Linked DNA regions of Homo sapiens: region 2 is linked to region 1. Evidence: promoter capture Hi-C in 16 types of primary human blood cells and fetal thymus (Javierre and others, 2016). All regions are on one chromosome and are shown on one strand. The core of a region is centred on a gene start or on the middle of the fragment in contact, and the rest is flanking DNA. Distances in the headings are between cores, read along the strand shown.

Region 1 (5,447 bases), core at 2,495-4,994:
CTCTCATGCAAGGAACAGTAGATAAAACAGACTTTTTTTTTTACTATACTTTAAGTGTTAGGGTACATGTGCACAACGTGCAGGTTAGTTACATATGTATACATGTGCCATGTTGGTGTGCTGCACCCAGTAACTCGTCATTTAACATTAGGTATATCTCCAAATGCTATCCCTCCCCCCTCCCCCCACCCCAAAACAGGCCCTGGTGTGTGATGTTCCCCTTCCAAAACAGGCATTTTAAAGGCATTCCTGGAACGAGTTAGACAGCAGTGAACACGGTGGGTTAGCATCTAAGAGGGAGTGGCTGTAGCCTCCACAGATGTATAGCTATATAGAAAGATATCTATTTAAATTTTGTTGACTTTTGGTGATGTCAGCCCTGTAAATATAGGATACAAGTTTCTTTTAGGACCACCACAGAAACTCTCTGGTTCTCTGACTGTGACTTGAGCTGAATTTAAAGACCTGAGCTTGTTACTTTTCCTTTTATAAGTATTGCAGGGCATTCTGAAGTGGCCATCTCCATCCCACAGAACTTGCAGTTCATCATTATTGTCATAGTGATTAAGTGTAGCAGCCAGTTGGTCCCCAAGGCATTTGCTCCAATAGGCAATTTTTCACAACCTACTACAGGTGCTATTTTTATTAGTTTTGATGCCACTTCATGCCATGATCTACTAATATCCCATGTTTCATTGATGAGGACTCAGCATTGTATTTGAGGCCAAGAATATGACCAAATCAATTCCAGAATCCCATCTTCACAGGTATGTTTCCTAACCCCACTGTGAATACGACATATCAGTCAGAATCACTTAGGGAAACAGAAACTATACCAGTTATTTTAATAGAGAGAATTTGGTATAGGAAATTAGTTTAACAGATACTGGAGGATTGAAAAGGCAAAAAATAAACACTAAGAACACTTAGACTTAGTGAAAGCAGGCTGGGGGAACAAAAGGAAGAGGTTGGGCTTATATTAGAAATCAGAAGCTTGGATAAGGGCCCTTGTGGAGCTGGGATGCAGCTCTCTGAGTAGAAAACGTCCTTCAGCTAATGCTGGCATCTCAGGAGCTTGGACAAAGAACAGTGGCTGGTGTTGGTTTCCCTGAAGGGGCACAGTGAGGCTGATTGGAGGGCAGGAGGAGGGTTCTGGAAACTGGAACTGTTACTGCCAGGAAGAAGAACTGTTGTTGGAGTGACACTGACAGTAACAGCAAGCAAAATAGAAACTGCTAAGTGCCTTCTCCTTTCTCCCACCTTGAAGTCTCCCTGTAGCACCCCCTATTGGCAAAGCCTAACTGGAGCAGCCTGGGAAAGGAAAAGTGTGCTTTGAGAGTCTGAGACAAAGAGAAGTTTAGAAAGGTGGGTTTGGAGCTGAGTCACCATAGCTTAATAATCAGCATAGTTTTCTTGACTGTAACCTGGTTGTTAAAAGAATGAAATTATGTCACCTATATTAAATGTATAGAATTACACCTGGTACATAGTAAGTATTCAATAAATGTTTCCCCTTCACTCATCAATTGAGATGATCGTGTGTTGTTTTTTCCCCTTCATTCTGTGAATATACTGCATCACATAGATTGATTTTTGTACGTTGAACCAGCCTTGCCTTCCACTTGGTCATGGCATATAGTCCTTTGAATATGCTATTGAATTCAGTTGGTTAGCTTTAAAAAAAAATTGCTATTTACCATCTAGACAGAGGTGGGGCTTTTGGAAGAAGCAGCTGAGTCAAACGGACCTTGAAAATGTAATTGGAGAACTTTCTGATCTTTCTGCTCTGAAAGCAGTTCCAGTTTGCATTCATGAGCTGTCTAAAGGAGGGTGATCTGTTTCCTCTACTCTCTCAGGCTTCCCAGTTATTCTTAGTGGATATAGCTAAAGGCAAATGGAAAACATAAATTGAGTGATTTAGAAGACAGTTTTGAGATCCTAGCTTTTTTCTAAATGTCAGGGATTGTTTTGACTGTTAACTTAGGAGTTAAGAACCTGAAAATAATGGCAGGCTAACTTACCAGAAATTTATAGTTAAAGAGAAAATCTGGCTTTCCTGGATCTCTGATCTAGCTCAGTGGGAAAAAGGGCAGCCTGTTCCTATAGCAACTCCACTCCAGCCTTGCTGCTCCAAGGCACATCCAGGAAGATACCTCAGGGGTCACCTGCTTGCTTTTCCATCTGTTTGGCAGTGAAGTAGGAGATTACAAGCCTTGTCCTGTAGCAGGGAGAGGCATTTTCATGGGGAAAAATGTCCTTTGGTCTCCTAGAAGCATTTAAGGTTAACCTGGGGTTGGGTTTCCTAAGATTTCTTGATGATGAATCACCTGAGGTCCTTCCCTTGGATATTTGGTTCTGTTGGTCTGAAATGGGAGCTCACATTTTGTCCTTTAAAAAAGTGGCCCATGTGATTTCTTTGTCAAGGGAAGTTTAGGAAGCCCTGCCTTAGGGCAAGACGGCAGCCCTCTCAATTCTGCAAAAGGAGCTAATATAATATTTAATTACTGCAGAGAGCATCGGCTTGAATAAAATCTGTCTAGGAAGGAAAGAAGGCTACAGTTATTAATCAGTGGAGGAAGAAACTCATGGGGCTGTTTGGAAGTTTTGCAGTCATGAATGACAGATAATGTTATTGAAAATTAAACTGTCTTCTCTACATCAACTTGGGTTTGGTTGTAAAACATAGTAGGTTCCAAAACACAGCTGGTTGTTTCACCTTGAAGACCAGGAACTGTGTGGCCACCATGGAGGGAGGGTCCGAAGCATGTGTCCTAGTGAGCCAGGTCATATCTGATGCTTATTCAACCACTGGCAGTGATGCAGTGCATAAAAAGGTTTCCTATGACGTTGTTCCTCTCCCAAAGCTGGAATTACTCCCCAAACGCAGAAAGCAAAAGGCATGTGGGGCTGGCCAGAAAAGAACAGGATCTCAGGGCTTTGTGAGAACTGTTATTAAAGTTTAAGTATCATCACAGCTAGGGGTTCTTGAAGTAGATAGGAATACACACGCAGTCAAGAAATAGGTGTCTGTCTATTCCTAATGAACTGAACCACTAGGTAAATCAGGTTAGACTCCTGTGCATGTGTGGATATATCAAGGGCCCCATTCACTGCTGGAGACCCTTGAGGGAGCTCTGCCATTTCTACAAAGTTGGGTAGGACAAAAACAGGGTCTTATGGCAGCGTCTTAAATTGCTATAGAAGAGTACCTCCTGGGGCCAAGGCAGGAGGAGCACTTGAGTCCAGGAGTTTTGAGACCAGCCTGGTCAACATAATGAGACCCTATCTCTACAAAAAATTTTAAAAATTGGCTGAGCATTGTGATGTGTGCCTGTAGTCCTGGCTACTGGAGAGGATGAGGTGGGAGGATCGCTTGACCCAGGAGGTTGAGGCTGCAGTGAGCTATCATTGTGCCACTGCATTCCAGCTGGGTGACAGAGTGAGACCCACACCCTAAAAAAACAAAACAAAACAAAAAAAAGAAAAGAAAAGAAAAAGAAAGAGAAAGATGGGCTCAATAAGTTAATTTTTGAATGTGTGAATGAATGAATGTGAATTAGAGAGACAGCTTGTCATTGACTTGCAAAACAGAGACCTCCACTTGTTGACAATACATGAGAAAACTTCAGGCTTCATTTCTCAGACCTTTATTCTTCTAAACAAGGTCCAGCCCTCTGTGTGTTACACCCTGTTAAGCACAAGCCCTAAGTTCTTCTATAACTAATTTGGACCTGTGATTCCTTGGTTCTCACAATCCTCTCCACTCTAAGAAGCAGGGTGAGCCCACAAGGAGCAATGGAGCAGGGCAGCGGCCGCTTGGAGGACTTCCCTGTCAATGTGTTCTCCGTCACTCCTTACACACCCAGCACCGCTGACATCCAGGTGTCCGATGATGACAAGGCGGGGGCCACCTTGCTCTTCTCAGGCATCTTTCTGGGACTGGTGGGGATCACATTCACTGTCATGGGCTGGATCAAATACCAAGGTGTCTCCCACTTTGAATGGACCCAGCTCCTTGGGCCCGTCCTGCTGTCAGTTGGGGTGACATTCATCCTGATTGCTGTGTGCAAGTTCAAAATGCTCTCCTGCCAGTTGTGCAAAGAAAGTGAGGAAAGGGTCCCGGACTCGGAACAGACACCAGGAGGACCATCATTTGTTTTCACTGGCATCAACCAACCCATCACCTTCCATGGGGCCACTGTGGTGCAGTACATCCCTCCTCCTTATGGTTCTCCAGAGCCTATGGGGATAAATACCAGCTACCTGCAGTCTGTGGTGAGCCCCTGCGGCCTCATAACCTCTGGAGGGGCAGCAGCCGCCATGTCAAGTCCTCCTCAATACTACACCATCTACCCTCAAGATAACTCTGCATTTGTGGTTGATGAGGGCTGCCTTTCTTTCACGGACGGTGGAAATCACAGGTATGGCGTGTCTACTGGGGGAATGCACTCCTTCTAGCCATCTCCGTCATGATCTGTGGCTGTTTGGTCCATGAATAAGGTGTTGGGAGACTGTGAATCTCTTCTTAGCCTGTTGCCCACGATGGCAGCCTTGGTTCTGTGAATGGTGCTTTGGACCATAATGTACCTGTGTTTTCTGCTCACATTTCAGGCCCAATCCTGATGTTGACCAGCTAGAAGAGACACAGCTGGAAGAGGAGGCCTGTGCCTGCTTCTCTCCTCCCCCTTATGAAGAAATATACTCTCTCCCTCGCTAGAGGCTATTCTGATATAATAACACAATGCTCAGCTCAGGGAGCAAGTGTTTCCGTCATTGTTACCTGACAACCGTGGTGTTCTATGTTGTAACCTTCAGAAGTTACAGCAGCGCCCAGGCAGCCTGACAGAGATCATTCAAGGGGGGAAAGGGGAAGTGGGAGGTGCAATTTCTCAGATTGGTAAAAATTAGGCTGGGCTGGGGAAATTCTCCTCCGGAACAGTTTCAAATTCCCTCGGGTAAGAAATCTCCTGTATAAGGTTCAGGAGCAGGAATTTCACTTTTTCATCCACCACCCTCCCCCTTCTCTGTAGGAAGGCATTGGTGGCTCAATTTTAACCCCAGCAGCCAATGGAAAAATCACGACTTCTGAGACTTTGGGAGTTTCCACAGAGGTGAGAGTCGGGTGGGAAGGAAGCAGGGAAGAGAAAGCAGGCCCAGCTGGAGATTTCCTGGTGGCTGTCCTTGGCCCCAAAGCAGACTCACTAATCCCAAACAACTCAGCTGCCATCTGGCCTCTCTGAGGACTCTGGGTACCTTAAAGACTATAAAACAAAACAAAACAAAAACATCAAACCAATGAAATAAAATAAATCATGTCTCCTGCTAGAATAGTATTGGATACCTGACTAAATTACACAAAATAGACCATAATAGGATAGCGCTGTGAATACATCCTTCCCGATCACTGAGTCACAGTGACCCTTGGCTGCTGCTGTTCTCTTCTGCAA
Region 2 (5,264 bases), core at 1,027-3,526, 280 kb after region 1:
AGAGCATACACATTGGGGAAGTGAGGGGGGACGGTTTCTGCTGACAGAACAACATAAGGGGGATTCGCCCTTCTGGATTTGAAACCTCAACTTGTTCACAATTTTGAGACTTTCAGGTTCAGACTCTGCACATCACCTTCAGTAAAAAGGCATAAGTCGGGACTCCTCCAGAATTATTTCTGGACAAATTTGTGATCATCCCTACTCCCACCCCATGCTTTTACACCCTTAGTCCCCCTCCTTATCTGTCCTGATCCTTGGGAGCCCCAAGATGATCTAAAATTTTTCTCTGGCTGTCTAGGGCACTCCACTTCAGCATTCTCCTGTGGTGTAACATTACCTGCCACTCATGCTGGTTCCCATGCGCCAAGCTAATTTCAACAACGGGTGAAGTGGGTATCTCCATGTGATGGCTGAGGAGACAGATTCTGGGTGTTGCTACTAAGCCTCATGGAGGCAGCCATGACAGAGCAGAGCCTTCTGTCCTCCTGTTCCAGGTCAGCAGCCTCTCCCAAGGCAGGACTCCATGGGCCAGCCTCTTTCCTCCCCCACCCTGCTTCTTCAGGCCAGCTCTTATTTGGTCTGACAATAAGTCTGAGGTAAGCTGTTACTGGCTGACGGTGTTTGGTGCCTTTCCCAAGAATGGGTACATTTTAACCTGGGCATCCTCTTGATACCACCTTAATCAAGGTTCCAGTGGTGGGTCTTTTATAGAGGGTGTGGTTGGGAGATGAGATTCCTTTGTGAAGAAGATATTTTAGTGGCCTCTAGGTCCCACTAGGCAGCTTGTGCTTGCACGACAATTCCTTAAACAAGCATTTCATGGCCTGAGCAGGGCTCAGAAATCCTCAAGAATTCAGAATGTCAGCAAAAGTCCAAATCTGTGTTTCATAACACCAAAATTATTTACATGGACTCAGAAATTTTCCTTACATTGTTAACCTGGACTGGTCCTCCCATCCTAACACACACCCACACACAGACTTACTTAGCTCCGCATCTAAGTGGTTTGTAGTGGCACATGTTTAGATTTTGTACCCCAAAGCTCAAAAAGTATTTTTTATCATGAATTTAACTGAAAAATACACATATTTCCATTCCAGAGAGGACTCCTCTTGTTGGGGGCTAACTTCAACACCAGACTCTCCTGAGTACATCTTTGCAGCTCTATAAACTTCTGGTATTTGTTCACATTGTCTAATAATTTCCTGGAAATAGACTTAGTATTTTTAGTTATAAGAAGAATTGAAAAATAATATTGCTGTTCTAGAAGAAGGCATTTATTTATTTTGCATTTGTACTTCACCCAGAGGCTGGCTGTGCAGACAAATCTCTCTGCTTGGGAACGACAGGGCTCTCTAAAGTAACTCTAGGGATGCAGCTGTCTACAAGTCACACTGAAAATGAAAAGTATGTTTATGAGGTCATGAGAAAGTCTTGTCATAAGTTGTAATTTTGTGTGTGTATTTAAAAGGTATTTGGTGACCAACCTTTTCTGTCTCACACCCGCACACACACACTATTGCCTGATTTCCAGGCTTAAACTGAGACTGAACTATCACCTGTCTGTTACGCATATGCAAACACACTGAAACCTCATTGTCTACACTCAGTGTGGCACTTCACCTGATACCACCATCTGACACCAGGCTGCAAGTCATAGGTTGCAGTCAGGTACATACACCCCTTTGCAAGAAGGCATTCTCAAAACCTTCCACTAGAGGCACGTGTGAGCACCTTTGCTAGAAAGCTTTGGTCGGCTAGCCTTCCAGAGCAGAAAAAACTGGGAAGGGCCTGAACCCAAAATTTACATAAAAGTAAATACAAATAATGAATGATTCCCTACTCTTCAGAGACATGCAAAATAGGAAAGAGAAAACTCTATCAGATTAGCAAACTACATGAGGATGATGAACATGATGGTAGGAATTCAATTACACACTGCCTGTGGAACTATAAAATTGTACAAACCTTTCAGCAAACAATTTGGCAAAACAGAGCTTGTATCTTAGTGTCCGTTCCCTTGAATCCTTTCATTCTAAGATTCTATTTTATGGAAATAACCAGAAATATGAGCAAATATTTATGTTCAAAATGTTTGCGGCAGTTTTTTTTTAAGAAGCAAAAAAAAAAAAATAGAAACATTCTAAATGCTCGGGATTAAATATATTATTCTCATGATGGAATATTTTGCAATCACTAAAGCGAGGTCCGTGAACAGTTTTAATAACTTGAGAAAATCTTAAAGTTAAGAGAAAGGTTCAGATAGAAAATTACATACAGTATTTTCTCAATAATTCAATGTACTAAACATGCAAAAGACTGGAAGAAAATACAATAAAATGTCAATTGGTTAACTCTGGGTGAAATTATGGGTGGTTTTCATTTTGTTATTTATATTATATTTTTCTATGTTTTCCAAATTTTTCAGCCTGAGCAATTTCCAAAGTGCTGAGTTGAGACAGCTGAGGAGCACAATTAGTGTAAAAGAAAGACTACAGATGGAACAGTTCATATCATTTGAAGCATGATTATAGGAATAGACATCAAGAATTTAAAGCAAGCATAATACATATATCAAAGAGGGAGGGGACTTATTAGTAACATTAAGCAAAAGAAAGAAATAATTGTTTTAAACCTAGTGGAAACATTAAGTATGAAGAAAGTAATAAAATAAAGGGCAAATAGATGGAATACATAGCAGAATGTAGCACAACAGTGTGACTGTTGTCAATAATAATTAATTGTACATTTTTAAAATAACTAGAAGAGCATAGTTGAATTGTTAGTAACACAAAAGATAAAAGCTTGAAGGGATGGATACCTTATTCCCCATAATGGGATTATTATGCATTGCCTGCATATATCAAAACATCTCAGGTACCCCATAAATATATACACCTACTATGTACCCACGACAATTTTTTAAATTTCTTTTTGTTAAAAAAAAACCCTCATCTGGAGCCACAACAATTTAATTTTTAAAAAACAAATATGAAGCAGAATAGATACAACTGAAGAATGGACTGGGTTTGAAGAGTTTGAGGAGCTCTTCCAAAAGCAGCAGGAAAAGACAAAATTCTGGCTCATGAAATCAATTTAGTGCATTTTGACCACAACTGAAAGAGAATAGAACAGAACAGAATGGGATGGGTTAGGATAGAAAACATCACTGCACAGCACATAATAATGCTAAGAATAGTTTGTGAAAACTTTATTTCAGTTATTTTTATTTTTATACTTTTGTGCGTGTGTATGTATACTGAGTTTCTATGTAAAATGATCTCTTGGTTTCCTTGAGCCCAGAAGTTCGAGACCAGCTTGGGCAACATAAGAAGACCCCATCTGTACAAAAAATAATAATTAAAAATGAGTAAAATAATTTCTTAGTGTGGGTTACAATAAAAAAGTTTGAAAGCTCCTCTTTCATTTTATTTATTTTAGATCCAGGAGGTACATGTGCAGGGTCGTTACATGAGTATATTGCATGATACTGAGGTTTGTGCTTCTATTGAACCCATCACCCAAATAGTGAAAATAGTACCTAATATGCGGTTTTTCAACCCTTGCCCTCTTCCCTAATTTTGGAGTCCCCAGTGTGTCTATTGTTCCCATCTTTGTGTCTATGTGTACCCCATGTTGAGCTCCCATTTATAAGTCAGAACATGTGGTATTTGGTTTTCTGTTTCTGCATTAATTCATTTAAGATAATGGCCTCCAGCTGCATCCATATTGCTGCAAAGGACATGATTTCATTCTTGTTCATGGCTGTGTAGTATTCCATGGTGTATATGCACCACATTTTCTTTATCCAGTCCACCATTGATGGGCACCTAGGTTGATTCCATGTCTGCTATGGTGAATAGTGCTGTGATAAATGTAGAAGTGCAGGTGTCCTTCTGATGGGATAATTTCTTTTCCTTTGGATATATACCCAGTAATGAGATTGCTGGGCTGAATGGTAATTCTATTTTTAGTTCTTTGAGAAATCTCCTAACTGTTTTCCACAGGGACTGAACTAATTTACATTTCCACCCACAGTGTCTAAGTGTTCCCTTTTCTCCACAACCCCGCCAATATCTGTTTTTCCCCATTGCTTTCATATCCTCTCTCCATATTCCATAGGCCCTCATAGTGTCATTCCTACTCCATATGCCACTGCTGTGGTAATCAGTGTGCTGTGGAACAACCTGGCCATGGAAATTTTGGAAAAGATGAGGTACATCAAGAAAGCAGTTGACTTTATTGCAGCACTTTGAAATTTTTAGGTTTGTTTTGTACATTGTGACTCTTTCAGAGGACTATACATTTGTTGTAATATTTTCCAAATTTATTTTACTATGGGATACCAGTTTGGGAAATGGCATTCACTGAAATAATGTGATACAGACAGGGAGCAGTAGCTCACATCTGTAATCCCAGCACTTTGGGAGGCTGAGGCACGAGGATCGCTTGAGCTTGAGCTCAGGAGTTCAAGACCAGCCTGGGCAACATAGTGAAACCCCTGTCTCTTAAAAAAAAAAAAAAATCCAAAAAGTTGTAGAGTTAACAGTGACTTTCTAATTTCCCAGATTTAAAATTCTTCTTATTCATTTACTTAACAAATATTTATTTTATTGAGTGTCTACTATGCGGCAAGTACTGTTCTAGGAACTTGGGATACATCAGTAAACAAATGGACAAAGGTCTTCGCCCTAAAAAGCTTTACATATTTAGCAGGAGAAAGACCATAAGAAATAAGTAAACTGAATACCTTAATTAATTAATGATATCATATGTTAAAAGGTAATATTTACCATGTGGAAAAATATAGAACAGCGAAGGGGGCTGGAGGTGGTAGTGGCGGGGCAGCATGGAAAGGACAGGTGGGTGGAAATTTTACACAGTGAGCAAAGACTAGAATAGTGCTACTGCTGGATATCTGGGGGGAAAGGATTCCAAGCAGGAGGAACAATTTGAGCAAAGGCATGAGTAATCTTAAATAAAAATCATCTTAAAGACATGTTACAAACTATTATGTAATTATCCCCAAATGTAGTGGCTTAAAACTGTCATTTCATTATGCTAACACCTTTTGTGAGTCGGGAATTAACAAAGAGAATCAAAGGGTGAAAGCTGTTTAATTTATATCTCTACCAGTCAATGCTAGCTATCAGCTGGGATTGTCAGCTAGAACACCAACATGTGAACTTTTCCGGTGGCCTGGGCTTCCTCACAGACCAGTCTTCCAAGACAATCAGTGGAAGGTGTATTCCCTTTTATGA

The links. The method cuts DNA at HindIII sites, captures the fragments that hold promoters and counts their contacts. A CHiCAGO score of 5 or more calls a contact.
Region 2: a fragment that was not itself captured here is called in contact with the fragment with the promoter of TMEM174 in region 1 in 3 of 17 cell types (endothelial precursors, M2 macrophages and total CD8 T cells); the score reaches 7.5 in endothelial precursors.

What each region holds. Positions count from the first base shown.
Region 1 is chr5:73,169,449-73,174,895 of GRCh38, forward strand. It overlaps TMEM174 (transmembrane protein 174), which reads left to right and starts at 3,745. Exons shown (of 2, transcript NM_153217.3): 1 at 3,745-4,421; 2 at 4,612-5,447. The coding sequence starts at 3,796. The coding sequence ends at 4,717. The HindIII fragment of the contact is 4,462 bases long and covers 992-5,447 here.
Region 2 is chr5:73,452,923-73,458,186 of GRCh38, forward strand. It overlaps LINC01386 (long intergenic non-protein coding RNA 1386), which reads right to left. Exons shown (of 5, transcript NR_126410.1): 5 at 1,268-1,397. Among named protein-coding and RNA genes, the nearest start is that of FOXD1, 6.8 kb to the left of the region's middle. The HindIII fragment of the contact is 1,057 bases long and covers 1,749-2,805 here.